2 separate regions of the Homo sapiens genome follow, and region 1 is linked to region 2. The links are contacts of gene promoters, found by promoter capture Hi-C in human tissues and cell types (Jung and others, 2019). All regions are on one chromosome and are shown on one strand. Each heading gives the region's core, a stretch centred on a gene start or on the middle of the fragment in contact. The rest is flanking DNA. Distances are from core to core; before and after follow the strand shown.

What was found. Contacts are between HindIII fragments. The study calls those that stand out against the background at their distance.
Region 1: a fragment that was not itself captured here is called in contact with the fragment with the promoter of CA8 in region 2 in 3 of the 25 tissues and cell types used here (H1 embryonic stem cells, heart left ventricle and spleen).

Annotation. Positions count from the first base shown.
Region 1 is chr8:60,044,442-60,049,939 of GRCh38, reverse strand. LOC105375861 (a long non-coding RNA gene) reads right to left here and starts at 3,132. Exons shown (of 4, transcript XR_007060918.1): 1 at 3,003-3,132; 2 at 321-414. The HindIII fragment of the contact is 3,589 bases long and covers 1,939-5,498 here.
Region 2 is chr8:60,278,863-60,284,299 of GRCh38, reverse strand. It overlaps CA8 (carbonic anhydrase 8), which reads left to right and starts at 2,900. Exons shown (of 9, transcript NM_004056.6): 1 at 2,900-3,252; 2 at 4,420-4,611. The coding sequence starts at 3,153. RefSeq lists a silencer at 2,717-2,925 and an enhancer at 2,918-3,424. The HindIII fragment of the contact is 7,867 bases long and covers 1-5,437 here.

The DNA.
Region 1 (5,498 bases), core at 2,484-4,983, 240 kb after region 2:
AAACAAATCAGTTTTACAAGACAGAGTGTAAGAAAACTTTTGCTGGGACTGAGCAGGTTTAATTGTGTAGGTTGACACTGACTCAAAGGCAGAAGCAAGGATGATAGAAGAGAAGACAATGAATGATACAACCTGAAGTTGATTTTGTTTGCAGCAGTCTAAATACTATAAATTAACCAGGTAATAAGTGACTTGGTATTTGATAGCATGTTCTAACAGAAAGAAATATCAAGATCTGGCCTCCCTTGCACCCGCTCCTCAGCTGACTGCACTGGTGTGATCAAGTCACTTCCCACCATGGGCAAAAGCCCAATGCTCACCTCAGGGAGTCTCTGCCCTGATGCCTTGGTAATCTCATGGAGAAGAGGCAAGCAGAATCTGAGTCAGAGCTACCGGAAACCCAAAGACTTACTTCTGTAAAAGAGGAAAGGATGATATGCTTTGCGGAGAAAAGACAAAGGAGGGAAACCCCATGGCAACATCTTTTTTACTACTTTCTATGTTTTTTCTTGCAATTCAGCTGCAGCCCAAATTTCCGGTCCTTGGTCCATTGTGAGTGCCAAATGGACACCAGCAGTTCAGTGTGTCTCACAGTTGTGTAGCTCAAGATGGGGCCTACTGTGAACATGCACCCTTTTCATTGCTTGTCTTGTAGTTATAGATTGTTTGGAAGCTGACAAGTGATGCAGGGGAAAATAAGAGGTCTGAATACTAAAAAAATCAATTTTTGTGTTATCTGAGAGAAGCAAAATGATAAATGTCTACAAAAGCCTTAGGTGCCAGAAAAACAGTTTTATATGAAAATAAAAATGAGTCAATTCACTGGTTGTATCTCTCTTAAACATAAAGCAAAGAAGCAATAGTATTAGCTTGTTTTAAAGTCCAAATCTTATTGTCCCGGCCGATTCTTAGGAGGACTGAAACATTGTTATGCATGTGCTGTGTGTGTGTGTGTGTTGTGGGGAAGAGGTGTATAGTGTGAAACTTTTTCTTTTACACTGGCTTCTTTCTTAGTATGGCAAACTTTAGAGCAGTCATCTGCCCCCTTAACATTGGTGACCAGCACACGATAGTAAGAATTTTTTGTACTCAGAATTTTTTATACAACACTGGTTGTATACACCAACCAGTGAGATTCCTTTTTTATCTTCATTTTAGATTAAATATATCAACAACGGGTATGCTTCTGTTAACTTAGATGACATAGTGTTATTTCCTGAGCTGTAACTCATCTCTGCAGATTCTGCTTTTAAATGGGACATTCCTTCAATCCTGAAGTAAAGCCACATCTGCAGAGAGAGCAGGCTCTAGTTTCTCTGTGAAGAAGCAATCGCTGTAGTCTCTGATTGAGAAATTGTAAAGGACAATTCCCAATTAAGGGCATCTGCGGTCAGCTGAAGGGCCAGTGCTCCAGGGCAAGTTAGAGACCTGTCATTAACCTATTGAACAAGTGGCCTGTCACAGAAGGCATTGTGGAGTCTGGCACTTAGTTGGAACAGTACAGTGGTCCCGTCCTAGGAGAGTCAGCAAGTTACAAAGGACTGTGAGAGTTGTGACTTCATATGACCCATGTTAGCAAGGATATGTTGGGTGGGACGTGGAAATCTCATGCTCACGGTGGCCTTCAGAAGCTCAGTCCTGAGCACACTGCATAGAAGGTGAGGAGGCACAAATCAACACTAGACCCATGTGTTTAGTGAAGACTGAAGTCAGGCTTCCAGGATACTCAGGGGCTTGGCTCTTGTTGGCTTATGGTCAGAAAAACACTAAACCTCAAGCACCCCAATGGGGTTGGGGCAAGAAAAAGCTTGTGAAGTTCCTCAAGGACAACAGACTATGGGCAGTCAAAGCAGTTGATCCTTTTATAAAATGGGAGCCATGGAGATATAGAAGGCTCATGTGCCCCTGCAATTCTATCTTGAGAGTAGAGGATTGGTTGAGACAGTTTTTTCTGGAAGATTTTGTTTTTGTTGGGCACTGCTCACAAAGACAACAACCAGGTCTGCAGAGTGCTCTCTGCAGGAGCAATGTGGGTGCTGGCTCAGGTGTCCTAGGTAGAGGGCACAAGCTTTGCTCTCGATTATGTGTGGGCCATGGTGCCAGGTGAACAGGTGGGGAGGCTGAAACAAGTGTCCTATGTAAGCATTTGCTTCTTTGTGGAAGCAGACAATAATAGTTTTCATTATAATTGCTATTCAATAAATGTAAAAACATATATGCTTGCTCACATAAATACATTAGTGCAAAGAATGTGTGCCATTGTTCACCTACTACTTACATTTGGATATTTACCTATTAAGAAACTTCAGAGTTACCTAAAATGTAAAGCAGCATTTGTGAGCAACTTGAGTAAAATGTACTCTAAACAAAACGGCCATTGGATTTCAGGGAAGATTTCTGTCTAAAACTGCTTAGTTTTCACCAAATAGTACTTTAAAACATATACTGTTATTTAAGCCACTAAACCATGCCTTAAGTTCTAGGCATTTCCATTGGCAACTATATGCAATGAAGAAAAAAACCGCAAAAATGATCACCTGATGTGTGAATAGTGAAGGTAGACAATGGTGCCAGGTGGTGCCTGCGCGCATAATCACGAGAACAGTGTGTCAAAGCACAGCAATCAATAACAAAGAAAAATCAACACATATTCAGCATCGTCCTGATAGCGTTAAGCTGATTATCCACTTCAAGTAATTGAGGCAGGAAGATGAATGTGTTGAGCAGCCTTTATTTCTCTTTTGGAATTCAGAGCTAGGTATAAAGGTTAACTGGTGTCTTATATTGCTCATCATTCTCTACCTCAGCCACAGATTTCCAAAAAGAGAGAGATCTTTTCCAACGACTGACTAATGCCCACACAGTTTCTATCATCTTTAAACTATGCTGTCAGTGGAAAATGAGTAGTTTATGATTTTTTTCAATTGCATACACGTATGCATAAATACATACATAAACATACAGAAACATAGAGACACACGTACATATACACAAGTACATACCACTTATATCAATTAATGGCTTCAGGTGCATGGACTTCAGTTACATTAAACTTCAAACAGATCCTCTTAAAACAGACTCTCCTGTTTTACAGCTTATGCCTCTAAAGAGGAAGCCTGGTCTATGTGAACTGAGGGAACACTTCACCCATCCAGCTAAGAAATGGGCTTGCATGACTCCACAATGAGGAACTCTTCTAGGTCTCCATGGGAATTAGAGAATGCTTGTTCCCCTCAGCCTTTGAAGATGCATGGCCATCTTCCTTGGTGAAACATGCTCTTACTGAGTGCATCACTCCCATCATCATTGTGAAAGCTTGAAATCTCTCATGTTAGCTTAGGACCATTGCTGTTTCTTACCCTGTGGGTGAGCAGCCTTCGTGGACAGATCATTATAATTTCACTGTTGCAGCTTCCTCTGCATTAAATCTGAAGTCCTCAGCACATTTGACATCCCATAGAAACCTTACTCTTAAAGATTTTAATCTGACTCTTCTCTAATCCTCCATACCTATGTTAAGCTTCCACACCTTTGTACTCTACCCCTCTTTCAAGGGCCATTTTCAGTTCTACCTCTTCAATAGACCATTGCTCTAAGGAACACCAATGTCTTGTTGCTTTGAACCTCTCATAGTAATTCTTCTTCAGTACATGTTGGGCACAGTTTGTAAGGTTATAGTGTAGCCTCCAGAGTTAAGGGACTTGGGTTTGACTCCTTGTTCTTTCGCTGTCTTTGGGTGAGTTGTTTAATATGTCTAAGCTATGTTTCTCACCTCTGCAGGTCAGAGCAGTCATATTATCTCTCATCTAGGGAATATGTGGGAATTGAAGAATCAAATTCAGATAAAGTACCAAGTCCGGGTACATAATATGTGCTCCATAAAAACTAGCTTCTGTTTTTACTACATACACATCACAATTCTGTATCACATATATTTCCTTATACATATGTGCTTTATCCAGTGTGTGTCCTCAAGGAGGAGCCCAGATGTACACATGTTATGAGGTCAGACATGACCAGGCTTATTTAGAGGGATTTGGGGGCAGCACCCCAAACGTCTATTTTCATGAGGATTCTAAGAGACTTAAGGAAAGAAATGTGCTTTTGAGGGGTGAAAGTCCAGGGGAAAAACCTGGCCAAAAAGGCATATTGAAATACAGCTTTTTGTATTTTTCTCAAATGTTTCTTTGGCCTAGATCCCCAAGGTTTTTTCTGAAGACTTGAGATAAATGGGTTCCAAAGTTTAGCTTATAAAATACTAGGCAATTCAAACTGAAATCAAATGTCTACCTGATTTTGTGCTTAGGCTGCAGACTGATACTATTCCACCTATTTTACTGAAGTAACTACTGAGGCATTCATGGCATGGGTAGAGCAAAGAGGATTCCCCATGGCATATAGTCATCCATAAGAAGAGGGGAAGTCTGCGGTCATCTCTGTGACCCAGGTACTTTTATGCTGGGCTGAAATTTCTACACTGTGGCAACAGCAGACCTTAGAGAATCGAATGGAATTCATGTGGCTGTAGTGAGCACAAATGGGAAGCATACCACATGGTGTGCAGAATAGCTAGATTTGCCAGCACACTTTTGATGCTACAGCAGAACCCGAGCATTTCCTTAATTAGTTGCACAAGTCTAAGTCAGGCGGGGATTGCCGTGCTCTGCAGAAGGAGGTTCATCTGGCACAGGGCTGCTATCGTATTGTTGCTGGATGGCCTGGCCTGGGCTTATGAGGCTTGAGGCAAAGTGGATTACACATTTTTCTCACAACTAGGTTTTGAATCCCTTGAGGACAGAGACTCACCCATCACTATTAGTCTGCTTGGGCTACCATAACAGAATACCACAGACCAAATGGCCTAAGAAACAGAAATGTATTTTGTCACAGTTCTGGAGGCTGGGAGCCCGAGATCAATATGTCAGCAGGTTAGGTTTATTGTGACACCTTTCTCCTTGGCTTGCGGACAGCTGCCTCCGCCCTGCGTCCTCACATGGCCTCTTCTCTGTGCATGCACTCTTGCTGTCTCCTCCTCTTCTTAGAAGCACACTAGTGCTACTGAATAAGGGCCCCACTCTTATGACATAATTTAACCTTAATTAAAGATCTTTAAAGATTTTATCTCCAAATACAGTCACACTGGGGTAAGGGTTTCAACATACAGATTTCAGGAGGACACAATTTGGTCCATAACATCATTTTCACCTTATTAAGCACAGGCTCACTACAGGGATAAAACTTTATTAAGAAATCTGGATTGTTAGAGCAGACCATGAGGGCAATAGGTTGGGTACTGAACGTTGGAAGTGTGAAGATTAAATTGGCTCGAAATAATAAAGTGCCTGGCATATCAGAACTTCGTCAGATCTCATCTGAAAAGCCATCCCAATTTAGCCATGCCTAAAGAAACTTTAATAGGGTGTTTATTAAGTCCCTAGAAGATGAAATACTGGAAACCTTTTATTCTTTAAGTGAACTGATTGAGAAAAGCATTAGAA
Region 2 (5,437 bases), core at 1,651-4,150:
GAAGTTTATGAATTACAGTTTGTATAGGAGCCACGTGACATGCATATGTTAGCTGTACCCTTGAGGTGATCCCAGAGCATAAGATGCACATAAGAGGAGGTCAAATTTATGACTCTAGGGCCTAGACTCACCGATACAATAAGAAAGCTTTGGTACGGTAGACAAGCAGTGAGGAAAGACAGGAGCGGGCTGTCTAGGTTGTGGACTCTGGGAAGCGACCTTAGTACTTTGGTTCCTCTGACATCTAGATTAGTTTGTCCCTTTTAGATATTTCTATTTATATTCTCTTAGTATCAAATGGTAGTTAGTTATATAGGTCTTAGTTTTAATAAATTGTTCTACTAATATGGTTTGGTCTTAGCTATGCAAGCACTAAATGTGAGCAATATAAAGTTAATTTAAGGGATCAAATATAATATTAGGCTGAAAGCCTATTAAAAATTATAGAGGAATATGTGGAAGACACATTCATAATACAGAGTATGAATATTTTTAGATTCTCTGGTATTGGATTTAGATGTGCTTGTTCTATTTTGTAAAACAAAGAATTGCCCTATATCTTTGATCTGTGTGTTTAGATTTTTTTAGTGACAGACACCTTATAATAACTAGAAATAGAAATTCCATCTTTGGTGGTAATATAGTGCAGGGACCTGAGAAGAGAAGGTCTTAAGGTGCTGTTAATTAGCAAAAATCTGAACCCCACAGTCTCAAAGCAATTAAGGCTGTTAATTGAATATTTGGGTGCTTAGAGGATTGGCTCATATGTGGCTGGACAGGGAACCCTAGGCTTGCATACAGGAGTTACATTCTACAAATAATCATGAACAATTCAGAAGGAGCAAATATAGGCCAATGCTAGTAGTCAACTGCATATTTGAATAGTAATACATTGCTGGCTATATGCAAAATTGTCTTTTTACTGTAAAAGTAAATACTAATAATTCAATCTTTCAGCCTATCTTTTGTAAATATGGCACAGTATTTATTCATGGAAAATTCAGTTTTTTACCATGGTGATTGTACCATCCTCTGGTTTGATAAACATCTCTATGATTCACCTGATATTTTAAACACAGTTGGTGGTCACACAATGGCTACAATGTCATACTTAGGCACATTTGGGGGACAGAGGAGAAAGGCCATTGCTGATGAGCTCAGAGTGGCAGTGCTTTTATTATCCAATTCCTTCATAGCCTTTGTATGGGCTTCCTTAGCTGTGGCATTTAATTAACGTGTGAACATACTTCTAAAAAGAAACTTAAAACAAATAGAAGATTACAAAAAAGTTTTCAAGAAAGGAAAAATAAATGTTCCTTTTAGAAGACCTTCAGTGAAAAGTAGTTAATATTTTCAGTAGTGCTTATTATTTTTAATAGCTCTGGCTTTGGGGTAGGCTTCTGCTTCTGCCAGTCCCAGGCTTGCAAAGATGCAAACGACCGTCCACTAAAGAACACCCAGAATGCAGTGAGTGAAAAATGAATTTAGTTTCTCAAACTGTTTCAGTCCTCTGCACAGTTAAGGAAAAGAGAAATTATATGAATGCTTAAAATCCACCGGTTATCCTCCAAGCTAATGTTGGCCAGTAGTTTTCCATATATTTGGTTAAACCTTCCAGAAAGTGGCAGAATTGAGCGAGTTGAGGGTTCCCCCCACTTCTTTCCATCTCAGTGTACTTTCTGGAGCAGTTTGTAATTTTTTTTTTTTAAAAGCTATGAAGTGTCTTTTTAAAAAGTGGAGGTGCTTAGCAGGCAGTAAAGGATATGAGCACTGAAACTAAACATTCCCAAACGGATCATTTCCATCCTTATTTGAGGAATTATGCATTCATAAGGCTGGTGTGATTTAGGAACAGGTTATTCAAAGTGCAAATAGATATCTTCATGAATGACCAGAGCATATAAAAAACAAATTGTACTTAAGGTCCTAACTCGAGTTTATTGTGCACATATATCTTCTAAAAATGTGGAGTTAACCTACTTAGGGGTTACTGACCAGGGCTTTTAAAAGGCACAGGAACAGAGGGCTGAAGTCGTTAACACTAGACTGAGAAGCACGTTTAAGGGTAACAATGCCACCTCTTTGGATCAGAAGAGTTCCTGTTTGTTATGCAATGTGTGCACTTCATTATTTACACGATTTCACTAGGTGAATGGGAGCTGTGTACACAGCCAGGTGAGCCTGCAGCAGCGCCCCAGACTCTGACAGCGAACACCCTCTGTCTACTGCCTTCTGCTAGCCCTGCTTTGAAACAATACCCTTTTCTGGAAAAAAAAAAAAAAAAAACACAACCCTAAATCATAGCTACTTCTCTAGATAACAACCATTTTCTTTTCTTAAACGTTTTTAGGAATTAATAGAACTTTCTTGGAAAAATTTCCAAACTCGTTTCCACTGCGCTGAACGGACGATTTAAAAAGTAAATACTCAGAAGATACTAAGAAGATTCCGCTGGAGAGTCTCTTTTTATTGTGTTACGGGGTCTCCTAGCCCTCTCCTTTCTCCTACCCACGGCAGCCCATCTCTCTCCTCCAGGACCCCTTCTTTTTGGTATTTCCTGGAGTACGGATGAAAATGAATAGGTGAGCAGCCTCTGGGCTAGGCCAGGCACACAGGGGTCCCGAGTGACCTTGGGAGACTTGCGGGCTTCTGGAAGGAAGGCTCGGGCGGCCAAGCAGGAGTCGCCGCAGCGAGGAAGCGCCAGGAGGCGGCGGGGGCGACCCCGGGGGAAGGGCGGGCGGGGATGCGCCGAGGTTTCCGTGACTTGGGACTAGTCGCCCCGAGGCGCATTCTAACTGTCGGCTCCCCTGGCCCCAACGGCCAGAGAGAGAAGGGGGCGGATCCTCGCGTACCAGACACGCCCCGGTCGGGTATAAAATTCGCCAGGCGCTCGCTCCCCAGGCCACAGCCGCTCCCTCGCTCTGCTGGGGCCTCCGGACGCGCTTCCCACGCGGGTCTCTGGAACACTCGGTCCGAACGCACGCCTGCTTGCACTCACACTGCGGTTCACACCCGGAGGCGCTCTCGCACTCACACTGCCGCTCACGCGTGCTCACACTCCCCCACGCGCGCTCCGCTCCGGCTCCAGCCCCGCGCCCAGCGAAGGCGCAGGCACTGCTGCCGAGAGCGCCGAGGGGCCCCGCGGCCTTCCCATGGCGGACCTGAGCTTCATCGAAGATACCGTCGCCTTCCCCGAGAAGGAAGAGGATGAGGAGGAAGAAGAGGAGGGTGTGGAGTGGGGCTACGAGGAAGGTAAGTGGCCGCGAGTCGGGGTGTCCGGGGTCCCGCGGCGGCGTCAGTGTCTCGCCGAGCGCGGGACTCGAGTCCTGCTGCCGCTGCGCGCTCCGAGCACCCCCACGCCCCCTCTTTCCCACGGGGGTCTCTGCCACTTTCCCACTCCCCTGGTGCGTTTCGGGCGGGAGGCGCTCCAGGGAGGCGTGCTCGCCGCCTGCGCTCTTCCGCCGCCTGCGCTCTCACCCGGGAGCCTTCCGCAGGGCTGGCGTTCGCACCTGCTGCGGTCCGGAGGGCGGGCTAGCCTCCAAGCCGTGGCTGTACCTTTTATGTCTTCTGAGTAGTCAAGAAGAGCAGCGGTACATTTTACTAAACACCTGAGGAAGACAGTGTTAGCGTGAAGAATTCGTTTTTGGCTTGGAGACTTTGGGGAGAAAGTGTTTCTGCCTCTGGTCTTTTCGTGAAGCCTGCTAGCAATGCTCAAGTCTTTCTAAAACATGTCCTAAATTTCAGACTGAATCATTGGGTTTGGCGAGAAGCGGTTGACTTTCTGAAAAACTCGAGTTTCCTAGATTTATTCCTAAAGACCTAGGGCTCCTATTAGAGCCAACCAGTAGTGCTGATGTTTACTACATATGTTGAAACCAATATAGAATATATAATTTTAATTATAAAAAATTTGGAAAGACTATGGGAATATGTATGTACACAGATATATACATATGCACACTTTAAAATACTACACTTGCATTTCTGATAAGGGGCGTCTATTTACTAGCATGAGAGTTAGGGTTCTGACTGTCACTAAGTATGTTGAAAGTTACAGCTGTTTCCCAGGTACTGAACGTAATTGAACTAATAAGCAGAAGAAATTGTTCTGGTATTCTTTTTTCCTAATCACTTAAAAATGACCCAAATTTCCTAGAATCATAAATTATTATGTCTTTGTTGACAAATACAAATAGAATATTTTGCTAGTCCGGGATTTTGTGTATGGTATTTGATAATAACAGATCATTCAAATAATGAATGCAAAAACAAATAGAATTACCATATTTCATCTGTATAGTGATGGTATCATTACTCTCTTCATGATATCAAGGGTTCTAAGTGTTTAGTTTTTACATGTTAAATTTTACTGTAATTTATTTTTTAACCTGTTTTTAATTTATTTCATTTTGTTCTTAGGTGTTGAGTGGGGTCTGGTGTTTCCTGATGCTAATGGGGAATACCAGTCTCCTATTAACCTAAACTCAAGAGAGGCTAGGTATGACCCCTCGCTGTTGGATGTCCGCCTCTCCCCAAATTATGTGGTGTGCCGAGACTGTGAAGTCACCAATGATGGACATACCATTCAGGTTATCCTGAAGTCAAAATCAGGTATTTTAGAAAATATGTTTGTGTGGTCTTTTAAACTAGAAGTCAGCGTAGAGTTATTGAACTGTGATTTAACTTGCACAATTTAAAAAGTACAACTGACGTATCTCTATTTTCAGGATACCTTTGTATTATAATATAAAGCATTTTTGGGAATTACCTTCTGAAACAATTTTGAAAGGACAAAAGAGTGAAATTATGAAGATTATCAGTCGGTTGTTCTGCTTCTTATGATGTTACTGGAAAAACCTTAGTTTGATCACCTTATACCTTGTGAAATATGAGGACAGGTACATGCAGGTGCAGTAATCTGCGTTTTGTCCAAAATTGTTGATTAGCTTAAATCACTTAGATAATCATAATTCTCTGTTTTGCTACTTTGTGAAACCAAAGATTAGAATTTATTGACATAACGTGGCATTCAAGGTAGACTTCTCAGGTTAATTTTCTCTACTGTATTAGTTTGCCAAAAATAATTTTAACTAATAACAATAAGAAACAGCCTCTAAACTCAGCCAGAGATTTAAATGGTAAACAAACCTCTTCCTTTTATTTATTTATTTATTTATTTATTTAAGTTCCATCCCATGAAACTTCTCCTACCACTTGCAAACCTATTTGAGATGGATCTGAAATGTTCTGTGCAAAAGTTGTTAGGTAATTACCAAGGAAATCAGTTTTTGGCTTTATCGTAGGAAAGAGGAAATCAGATTTTTAAAAAATGTAGCATTAATAGCATGCATTTCATAGTGAATAATAACTGTCTTTTTCTTTTGGGAAAAATTAAAGTATGTTGAAATATTAGGACGTACTTGATAAATAGAGACTG